Regions from separate parts of the Homo sapiens genome. Here all the other regions are linked to region 4. The links are contacts of gene promoters, found by promoter capture Hi-C in blood cells and fetal thymus (Javierre and others, 2016). All regions are on one chromosome and are shown on one strand. The core of a region is centred on a gene start or on the middle of the fragment in contact, and the rest is flanking DNA. Distances in the headings are between cores, read along the strand shown.

Region 1 (2,700 bases), core at 12-2,511, 490 kb before region 4:
CTACTCGGGAAGCTGAGGCAGGAGAATCGCTTAACCTGGAAAGTGGAGGTTGCAATGAGCCCAGATCGCACCACCACACTCCATCATTGGGGACTGAGTGAAACTCCGTCATAAAAAATAAAATAAAATAAAATCACAATATCTTGTATGCTTGACAATTGCTAACAGAGTAAACTTTAAGTGTTCTTACTATGAAAAAAATAAGTATTTTAGGTAATGTATATTTTAAATATCTTTAAATATCAAAACATCATGATGTGCATCATAAATTTATACAATATTTACTTCTCAGTTAAAAAAGATGAGTAAATAAATCATTTTAAATGTCCATCACAGGAAACACCTTTAGAGTAACTCTGTGGTTTTGCTTTATTCACAGAGCTTTTTGTTAGAACTGTGGAAAGGAATTACAACATAGAGTGCTAGAAGCACAAGTGGCCTAATAATAATTTTTATTTTTACTGTAAGTACTGGCATATCTGACACATCTGTCCTATTGTTGAGTATGACACCTTAGGAATAAATGTGACTGGAAGTCATTCATTTTGAGGTGACTCTTAAGAGTCTTAGGGTCCTGAAATCAAGAACCAGGCAGATCTATCTACTCTGACACTAAAAAACAGATCCTAAAATAAATTTCAAGAAAAAAAATTAGATACCAAAGATTTCTAGTTGGGGAACTTTTGAGGTTGTCATCAATATGTCCATATTCAAATGGAGATCAATGAAGACCAAATAAAAGAATTGTGGGCTACCTTGAAGATAAATCATGACTCAAGCTTTTGAGGAACTAAGGTGACCTTCACAGTCAGTGGAAAGAATCACAATATGTAAAGTTCTTTCGATAAAAGTATACTGACTTTGGGCTGGGCACAGTGGCTGACGCCTGTAATCCCAACACTTTGGGAGGCTGAGGTGGGCGGATCACCTGAGTTCGAGACCAGCCTGGCCAACATGGCGAAACCCCATCTCTGCTAAAAAAAATAAAAATAAAAATTAGCCGGGCGTGGTGGTGCCTGGCTGAGGCACGAGAATCGCTTGAACCTGGGAGGTGGGGATTGCAGTGACCCGAGATTGCGCCACTGTATTCCAGCCTGGGCAACAAGGTAAGACTCTGTCTCAAAACAAACAAACAAACAAACAACAACAACAACAATATATACATATATATGTGTATACATATACGTATATATATGTGTGTATATATATACGTATATATGTGTGTATATATATACGTATATATGTGTGTATATATGTGTATATGTGTATATGTGTATATATATGTGTTTGTGTATACACACATGTATACACATATACACATATATACATATACATATATGTATATGTGTGTGTGTGTATGTATGTGTGTGTGTATATATATATATATATATATATGCTGATTGAATAACCTTGTCTAATATTACTGCTATGGTTTGAATATGGTTTGTCCTCACCACAACTCACATTGAGGCTTGGCCCCCAATGTGGCAAATGTTGGGAGGTGGTGCCTTTAAGAAGTGATTAAGTCTTTAAGAGGAATTAATACCTTTTTCTGGAGACTGGTTTAATTTAGCAGGAATAGATTAGTTCCCCAAAAATAGGTTGTTATAAAGTGAGTTTGCGTCTTGTGTGTTTTGCCCTTTTGTGAAAGCGCCTAGCTCCCCTTCTATTACTCCGCTGTGTTTCCTTTGACTCAGCATGAGGCCCTTACTAGAAGCTACCAGATGCAGCTGCCCAAGCTTAAACTTCCCAGCCTATGGTAGGAACTCACTATCCTATCTCACTATAGGATAGTGAGCCAAATACACCTCTTTTGTTTATAAATTACCCAGTCTCAAGTATTCTGTTATAGCAACACAAATGAACTAAAACAGGTACACATAATTTTTATTAAAAATTGAAAGCCCTTTACATTGTTTGTATAGTGGAAAGTCAGCATGTATTTTTACCTCAATGTTTTGCTAGTGTTTTCTGTATTTCTTAGGGAATAAAGCTAAGTTTAGCAGGGGGGAAAAAAAGATTTTATTCCTTTCCAAAATTCTCACAATAGAAAAAATTAATGCTAAATAACTGTGTGTTTTTAGTTCCAATTATCTGGAAAAATTGTTTTCATTTTCTGCCTCACCTTGATACATTATAAATACTATTTAAGATCAGACCTATTGAGCAGCCAGACCAATATTATTTTTTATGATGTTATCAAAGGGCTTTTTGAGTAAATGTACAGTTCTAATTTGATAAATTGGAAAGCATTAAATTGCTCTTAAACATATTAACTTTTCTTATTAACCTTTATAAATTAATTATCCATAAATTTCCTTAAAAGTAAGATTTCTCTTTTTTTTTAATTTCTTTTTTCTTTTTGAGACAGACTCTAGCTCTGTCACCCAGGTTGGAGTGCAGTGGCGCGATCTCGGCTCACTGCAACCTCCACCTCCCAGGTTTAAGCAATTCTCCTGCCTCAGCCTCTGGAGTAGCTGGGACTACAGGCCCTACCACCATGCCCGGCTAATTTTTGTACTTTTAGTAGATACAGGGTTTTGCCATGTTGGCCGGGCTGGTCACCAACTCCTGACCTCAGGTGAGCCAGCTGCCTCGGCCTCCCAAAGTGCTGGAATTACAGACCTGAGCCACCATGCCTGGCCTAAAAGTAAGATTTCAATATGTGCTGTATCATAGAATAAAAGCTATTAATATTTA
Region 2 (2,700 bases), core at 74-2,573, 340 kb before region 4:
ATAATCTGCTTTTGATTTCATCCAGTATAGTTTTCATCTAAGACATTGTTTCCATGTTTGTTTGATTAATCCCGAGAAGATGATTTCACATTTTGCTCTCTCTTTCATGTCTCTCATTTGATGCTTTCCTCTACCTTTTCAAACATAGATACCTGTTTTAATGTCATTATCTACTAATTTTAGCAACTGTGTCATTGTGGGTCTGTTTCTCTTGATTGATTTTTTTCTCTTCAATATGTATCATTTTTCTGCCTATTTCTATGCCTGATATATTCTTATCGAATGCTGGACATAGTGAATTCTACCTTATTTTGTGCTGAATAGTTAAGCTTTATTCTGGGATGCAGTTAAATTACTTAGGAATAATTTGCTTGTGTTGAAGTTTGCTTTTAAGCTTTGCTTGGTAGAACCAGAGCACCTTTCAGTCTAGATAGAATTGTTTCCACATTAGTGAGACAATATCCTTCTGAGTACTCTAACTGATTCGAGGATTTTCTACCCTGGCTAATGGAAACACAAACTACTTATGACCTTATGTGAATTCTGGAGACTTTTTTGCCTTCCCTTTCTAGTGGTTTGTACCCTGGCCTTGACCATTTCCTCACATACTTGTGTTGATCAGTATTAATTGGAAGATTCAATAAATCTGCACATCCCCTGAAAATCTCTGAAGCTGTCTCTGTGGATAGTTTTCTGATCTCTGTTATTCTTCTTTGTGAATTCTTGCTGCCTTCTTTTTCCCAAACTCTCATCTCTAACATGGAGAACTTAATTTTGCAATCAATCAGCTAAATTTAATGATCAGATTTCTCTTCAGAAAAATTATTTTTGTCAGGAATCTGGAAAGTGAATTGGAATGGATAGGACTATTAGGAGATATTACATTCCAGACGAAGAATTGTGACGGCTGTGACCAAGACAGTGCAGTGAGAGTGGAGAGGAGGTCATGGATTAATCTGCTGTTTTTTGTGGGGGGCAGGGGGTAGACAACAGTTGGTTATCAATTAGTTGTGAGTAGTGAGGGGAAAAGAGAAAGGTTGGCTCCAAGGCTCTTGGCCTAGGTAATTGGTTGAGAATATGGGCTATTCATCAAAATAGGAAACACAGGAGGGAAAAGACAATGTTGAGCATGGAAGAAGGAAAATGAGCTCAGTTTCCCACATACTAAGTTTCAGATGCATGTGAGATATCCAAGGGAGAATAGATAATCAGTAAGTTGGTTCCATTCAATTTTCAGTAAGTACCTATCATATGTCAGGCATTTTGGTAGGAACTTGGAGGTGAAGGATGAATAAGACGCGGTACCTTCCATTGGTGTGGAATACAAGACATCTGAAGCAATATATAAAATTTTGGACAATGGTTGTAAGTATAAAAATTAGGAAGTGCAGATCAATAAAACAAAGGTTTTATACCCTTTCATCCATGAATAAAGCCCCCAGTACATTTTCAGAAACTTTTGGCCTCCACTTAATACAACGTTCAGGTTAGCTCTGACTCTCAGCCAAAGTAATTTTCTGCTTCTGCTTCAAAGTATAAGGTTAGAAGCAGGGAGGGAACTGCTAAAGGCAATTAATTATATTTTCAGTAGTGTGAAGTGATTGCTGACAACTTGACAAGAAAGGCAAAGAAACAAAATACAGAGAGCATAGCTAAGCTCAGCAATATAGGTCCTACATATATCAAAATCTCTGTGTTTACTGCTGTATTGCAACCCAAGATGATAATGATTTTTTACAGTGATACCTTTCCACCATCAAGAAGAATTTTCATTGTATCTGCTTATTTTACGCAATAAATGTTTGATGCAAAATGAATGCTTAATAGATTTTTATGATGATTTCTTACAAATGCTTTGTTGACTCGTTAAAACACAAAAATATATTTCTACAATACCACAAACTAGGAATACTGGTTGGAGATCGTCCAGACTTCAGTAGAAAGGTTAATTAATAAAAAGGCAGATGAGAGGCGCACATAGAACAGTGAATCCTTCTGGAGAAAGAAAAGTAGATGACATTTTAATGTATTCATTCTATGTATAATTCATCTCCATTTGTCTTGGCCATTATTGACCACGGTCATTGCGAAAGACCTGACTTAAAAATGGTCATGATCATTTAATTCTTCAAATTTACCGTTATCTCCTTTTATTCTGCATTGATTTGAGGCCTCGAATTCCAAGAAGTTCAATATAGGTGAAAAATTCAAGTGAATGTGGATGTGCTTTATGTTTAGGAATGTAAGCTTGGCAGAAGGAAGGCGTGAAGCCTGGTAAAGATGTGTATCACTTCTAATTATCTACAATTGATAAAGGGCTGGACCTATCAAAAAGCCTTCTGCCTGAGATCTGTTGAGAACTCTACGAATAATCAGATGGGGTTATAGTTTGAATGTGTCCCCCAAAGTTCATGTATTAGGAACTTAATCAGTCACCAATGCTACAGTGGTGAGAAGTGGGACCTTTAGGTACATACACACATACATACACGGTTTGTACATTGTCACTTTTCATCTTTTCATATTTTGCCTTCCATAACATGAAGAAATAAGATGAAGAAGTAAGAAAGCCCTCTCTACATGCTGGTGCCATGCTCTTAGTCTTCTGAATTTGTCAGAAATATGAGCCGATACATTTCTGTTTTGTAAATTAATTACCCAGTCTGTGGTATTCTGTTATAGCAGCATAAAATGAGCTGA
Region 3 (2,700 bases), core at 201-2,700, 270 kb before region 4:
CACACACACACACACACACACACACACACACAAACTTCTCCCCAAAGGCAAGGCAAGGGAGACTAATACATGCAGTTGTACTTTCTCGGTTCTGGTGAGAAAGCTGAAATCATCTGCTTAAAAAAAAAAGGTTTGGGTTGTACATGGCGGCTCACTACCTGTAGTCCCAACAGTTTGGAAGGCCGAGGTGGGAGGCTCACTTGAGGCTAGGAGTTCGAGACCAGCCTGGGCAATATAGCGAGACCCTATCTATACAAAAATAAAATGTGGAAATGATGTATTTGTGTTGGGACCTCTGTGTTATATACAAAAACATCCCAGTGCAGCTCCTTGGTCTCAGTAGGATGCATGAGCCTTCAACCCTCTCAGCCTGGGCTCAGAAAATTTCCTGGAGCAGATTAATTTGGAGTTTGGTTTAAAGGAGAAGCCAGTGGCGGCAAACACTCTTGGTTATGAGAGGTCTCTTTTTCTTTCACTTTCTTCCTTCAGCTCCCCTAACTGCCATGCAATGGGCAGAAGACATAAAGTGAACTTAAGGCGTATTCTTTCCTCAAGCAATGAGACTCTTACCCCTTTTGTCATGGCAATGGATCTCAGAGTCCACTTAATTCCCTGGTCCCTGATCTCAAACGATGGCCTGAGGCTAAACAATTTGTTTTCTAGGGTAGCTTGGAGCTTGTGGGTGAGGGGAATTACTACTGTGTCCTCTGCGTTCACCCAGAGAGTGACAGAGATCAGGAACCACTGCCTCTCCCCTGCCAGACCTTGTCGGGCTCATGGGAAGCACATGCGTCAGTGTACTAGGGATTCCTGGCGCCTCAAGGGTTCAAGCAACCCTCACACCAGTAAAGGCGGCCCTGCCTAGCACAGGCAGGACGCGGAGGTGGAGAGTTGCGGGGCGCCATGCAGCCGCCAGAGGACGCAAGTGCCTCAAGTCCCCGCGCGATGGCGCCCCACGGACCGGGAAGGAAAGGTGGTCCGCCTGCGAGGAGGCGCGGACCGGGCCAAGGAGCCCATAGGAAGAGCGGGGCGCCGCCTCACCCGCGAGCTGCCGGCCTCTGCATCCGGCCCACCTGTCCCTCCCTGCCTACCAACCCAAGAGCCTCACCCCGATCTGCGCTTGCTGGGTGACCTCGACGCCCGGGCGGGGACAGAGGGCGCTCTGAGCTCTGCGCTCAGCTCCCAGACCCACTCCCACTCCGAGGCGGAGGCCAGGTCTTCAGAGAGGAACGACGGAGGCGCAGAAGCCCAGGGGCAGCCCGCTCCAGCCCTGGCAGCCGCGGAACAATGGCCCGAGCGGCTGCGGGCGCCGCGGCGGGCGCGGAGGAGCAGGGGCGCCAGGGCGCTGGAAGCCCCGCCCCTCGGCCGGCGCCCTGACAACGCGGGCGGGCTGGGCTGCGCCGCCTGCTCCCCGCCCCTCGGCCGCCTGCACCGGGCGGGGCCCGGGCCAGAGCGCCGCCGCCGCCGCTGCTGCAGCAGCAGCTGCTCTGCAGAGTGGTGGCCGGGGCCAGGGCCGGGGTGCCCTCCCTCCCACCTTCTCCCGCCATGAGCCAGGGAAGTCCGGGGGACTGGGCCCCCCTAGATCCCACCCCCGGACCCCCAGCATCCCCCAACCCCTTCGTGCATGAGTTACATCTCTCTCGCCTCCAGAGGGTTAAGGTAATGTGTGGGGAGCGGGCGTCGGAAGGACCCGTGAGGATAGGAAAATGGGGCCATTTGAGCCCTGGCAAAGGTGGGCTTGGGGATCCACGAGAAGGAGATGGCTGAGAGGCTTGCGGAGCGGGAGTCCGGGGGTGCGCACGTGGGGGCGGCCGCGGTTGGGCAAGGAGTCCTGGAGAGGACGCTGCGGGCTTGGGCGATAGACAAGCTCGAAGATGTGGAAAAACTGAGTAGGTGGGGATGGAGGGCTGCAGGGGACCCTGGGGTTGGAGAGATGAAGGACGCTGGGGAATGCGGATTACATTCTGCAGAGCCTGATGGCTAGGATGGAGTTAGAGTCTACGGGAAGCCGGGGGTGGGGGCGGGGGCGGGGGCGTGCCGAGTATTCCTCCGAGGCATGACTTAGAGGGAAGACGTTTCTGGGCCGGGAGCCTGCGACCCTGTGCCCTTCCTACACTCCCTCTTCCCACTCCCTCCAACCCCCCTCCACCCCGCACTGCAGCACCTCCCGGTGGGGGCAGGGAGGCTGAGAGGGAGGTTGGCTACAGGAAGTGGAGGGCCGCGCCAGCCTAGGGGAGCTGGGAGGTGGTGTGGGGAGGGAGTGTCCAAGGTTTCTGCTGTCATCACCTCCCCGGAGGCAGGCTCCAGGGGCTAGGTTTGCTTACCTGCTTCTTCCCCAAGGCAGCCTATGGAGTCATCCTGGCTCCTGGCAGCCTCTCTCCCTTGCAGAGTGGGGCCGAGCTCTTGTCTCCCATATCCCCCGGTACTCTAAGATTGCTGTTGAGCAGTGTCAGAAAATGACCTCGGGTCTGAAAACTGGACCTCTGGCTGTTTACAGCCCTCTGCCTCCTAGGCCCAAAGTGGAAAGATCTGTGCACCTGGTTTCTGTTGGGCATAGGAGCTATTTATGGAATAAGATGTGGGGGAGGAGGACCTGTCTCTAACCTACTGTACATCAAGCACAGCGCCCTGCACTTTCGCATGCATTCTTATTAAATCCTCTAAGTGCTAGATGCTTTTTATGGCTTTCGGTTTTATAAA
Region 4 (2,951 bases), core at 365-2,864:
AGAACAATGCGTGATGATTTCAGGCCATCCGCTGAATCTTTCAAATTCATGCCAGGCCCTGTGTGAACAAGCGCATTCCACACATAACCAGACTGACTTTCACAAAGTACATATAGCTTCAGACCAAATCGTACTCGTTTTGTCGGGAGGTACTGCTTCATAGCTAATGGCCCCTTGAACAGCATCAGTGATTCATCAACTGCAATGTTTCTGTTTGGAGTATATACAGTGGAAAATTTATTTACAAGAAAGTCGAACACAGGTTTGATCTTCTGCAATGAAATCTGGGCCTTTGATTGACCAGCAGATATAGAAGAATTGTTGACAAAATGCAGGCACCGAAACAAAAGTAAAAATCTTTCACCAGTCATAATTTGCCTGAGATAAGGTGTATCCAAAAGAGGCCTTGTTGACCAAAACATCTCCAGCTCAGGTTTCTGCACAATACCTTGCAGTAACATTACTGCAAAAAAGACTTTGAGCTCGTCATTGTCAGTGTCTTTCCATTTATCCATTCGCGAAAATCCTTTCGGACCCGGTGGCTTTGAAGCCAACAAGGCAGCTTGGGCATTTGTTTCTCTAGTAATTTTTGAAACTAATTCCTCAGTAAAGAACAGTTCAAAATACTGCAATGGGTCAGTGATATCACTGACATCGACTTTTCTGCCAGGTGTGCCGGTAAAGTCATACCTTTGACGTGGAATCATAGCACGAGCTGACCATTTCATGGAGCGCCCTGAGTCACTTGATGTAGAGCTCTTTCCATCAGATTCTAAATGGGACAGAGGCCTGATCTTATCGGCTTCTAAAGCACTATCCGAAAAATTATCAGAATCATCTATTTCCGAAAAATCAGATTCATCAAATGAATCTTCAGCCAACAACTGTTCGAGACCGGTATTACTATCACGCATAGGAATGCTACGTTTTCTAGGATTTGACATTTCAGCGATCGAGAATTACTATATTTTGTAGATGGAAATCCCACTACTAAAAACAGAATGCTATAAACAGAATGATGTCTTTTGTTTCAAAAGTCAATATACCAGAACCATGCGAAAATAACAGAAGCGAGATATTTCGTGGCAAACTTTGGGAGTAAGGTTGGCACTGTAATCCACGAGTTATCTCGGCGTAAACGCTGCAGTCGCAGGCACAGCAGCGCGTAATCTCGGGGCTAAGGAGAAATGAGTTAAACGCACACAGACAGAAGAAGCCTTTCATCTCATACGTCTTGGGGAGTCTCTAGAAGTTTTTTGAAAGGTCTCTTCTGGATGGTGTTTCTCCCGAAGCCAGTCTCGTCATCTTTTACTCCCGTGAGGTCCTTGGCCTCCGTGGCTGCCGCAGCAACACACACTTGACTTTCACTTCATGGGCAGTCCCCTTCATAGGCACTTGACACAGGCTCTGTGCGCCGTCTTCCAATCCAGAGTGCCGGGAGTTAAGGGCAGTACTTCCGCCTTACTTCCGCCTCGCTAGTCGATCGGCCATGATCTCTTCCCTCTGGTTGGATCCCACAGCTTATGACAGAAACGGGCGCGCAGTGATGACAACATCAAGCCGCCAGCGGCGGCGGTGGCGGCCGGGAGACTGGGAGGGCTTCCGGGGCTGCCGGTCTGAGTGCAGAGCTGCTGTCATGGCGGCCGCTCTGTGGGGCTTCTTTCCCGTCCTGCTGCTGCTGCTGCTATCGGGGGATGTCCAGAGCTCGGAGGTGCCCGGGGCTGCTGCTGAGGGATCGGGAGGGAGTGGGGTCGGCATAGGAGATCGCTTCAAGATTGAGGGGCGTGCAGTTGTTCCAGGGGTGAAGCCTCAGGACTGGATCTCGGCGGCCCGAGTGCTGGTAGACGGAGAAGAGCACGTCGGTTTCCTTAAGTGAGCATCCTGAGGGCAGCGGGAAAAAGGCTGGGATGGAGGCCGGACAGGGACCCCACCAGGAGAGTTAAGTGTCAGGACGGGACAACGTCGCTGTCTCAGACTGAAGGGGAGGGTGCCGCTAACGGTCTATGCCGGGAGACCTTGGGAGGCAGTCGGATGCTTTCCCTTTCCTGGTCCTGTACCTCTGGAATGAGCATGGCAGGCGCTCACCCCCTGCCATGGTCAGAGCATGGAGTCAGTTATTTCCAACCTTATTTTGGCCCCATGTGGGGACGATCATTCCTGGGCCCTGGGGACAGGTGGACCCTTATTAGTCTCTTGTTGGATTCTTTTATATCTCATCTGGTTTCCCTAGAACCTAGTCGTTTTTTGCATTCACTTCAGTCTTTTGGTAGCTTGTTATTATGTAGAAAGATGCGACACAAGTGGGAATTCTCAAAACCCAAAGGGCTTCTAGTGACGACATAGACTGGGAGGCTAATGTTACTGCTTCTAAAATTAATAGGCTCTGAAATCCCTAATCAAAGCACTTTTTTTTTCTTTTTTTTTTTGCTTGGGGGTGGGATCGTTGTTCTTTTTTACAGTTGAATTCATCGAGAGATTTGCTATATCACACTTGTCATTTATGTGAGACTAGGGTTCCTCTACATTGCTTTCTTGCTTCTGTCCTTTCATGCTATTAGTGGAAGTGGGTTTTCTGTCTATATTAAAAGACAGGATGAATTTGTTAGCACTAGTTTTGCAGCAGCCTGCTTTTGAAATGTCTAGGCACGCGTATGTTGTTTTAAATCTTTCCACCCTTACTTGGAGGTGAAACTGTAAACTGAAAGCAAATAATTAGGAAGTATTTCCTTTGGTGGGTTCGTACACCAGCAAATGGTATCTGAAAATCAGACAACTTAAATGTAGACATTTAAATCCAAATCTGATTTACATATTTGTTCAGATCATCTAAGTGCCCTTGAGTGGTTATTCAACCTCAGATTAATAAATAGTGACAAATTTACAACCAGTATTTTACTGCTGTCTGTCATTAAGAATCTGGCATTAGGGCATTCGTTAGAGTTTACCCTAAT

Evidence for each region. Contacts are between HindIII fragments. The CHiCAGO score rates a contact against its expected background, and 5 or more counts as called.
Region 1: a fragment that was not itself captured here is called in contact with the fragment with the promoter of EMC7 in region 4 in 2 of 17 cell types (fetal thymus and activated CD4 T cells); the score reaches 8.3 in fetal thymus.
Region 2: a contact is called between a fragment that was not itself captured here and the fragment with the promoter of EMC7 in region 4, in 4 of 17 cell types (activated CD4 T cells, total CD4 T cells, total CD8 T cells and 1 more). The highest score is 7.3, in activated CD4 T cells.
Region 3: the fragment with the promoter of LPCAT4 here is called in contact with the fragment with the promoter of EMC7 in region 4 in 2 of 17 cell types (neutrophils and non-activated CD4 T cells); the score reaches 8.4 in neutrophils.

The regions. Positions count from the first base shown.
Region 1 is chr15:34,595,178-34,597,877 of GRCh38, reverse strand. No RefSeq gene overlaps it. Among named protein-coding and RNA genes, the nearest start is that of GOLGA8B, 13 kb to the right of the region's middle. The HindIII fragment of the contact is 960 bases long and covers 782-1,741 here.
Region 2 is chr15:34,442,487-34,445,186 of GRCh38, reverse strand. No RefSeq gene overlaps it. Among named protein-coding and RNA genes, the nearest start is that of GOLGA8A, 6.0 kb to the right of the region's middle. The HindIII fragment of the contact is 1,853 bases long and covers 397-2,249 here.
Region 3 is chr15:34,365,946-34,368,645 of GRCh38, reverse strand. It overlaps LPCAT4 (lysophosphatidylcholine acyltransferase 4), which reads left to right and starts at 1,450. Exons shown (of 14, transcript NM_153613.3): 1 at 1,450-1,659. The coding sequence starts at 1,546. RefSeq lists enhancers at 406-695, 295-1,290 and silencers at 1,066-1,115, 1,246-1,705, 1,826-1,875, 1,956-2,045. The HindIII fragment of the contact is 20,785 bases long and covers 1-2,700 here.
Region 4 is chr15:34,100,525-34,103,475 of GRCh38, reverse strand. EMC7 (ER membrane protein complex subunit 7) reads left to right here and starts at 1,614. Exons shown (of 5, transcript NM_020154.3): 1 at 1,614-1,872. The coding sequence starts at 1,637. PGBD4 (piggyBac transposable element derived 4) reads right to left here and starts at 1,393. Exons shown (of 1, transcript NM_152595.5): 1 at 1-1,393. The coding sequence starts at 944. RefSeq lists enhancers at 1,184-1,273, 1,304-2,003, 1,613-2,470. The HindIII fragment of the contact is 6,792 bases long and covers 1-2,951 here.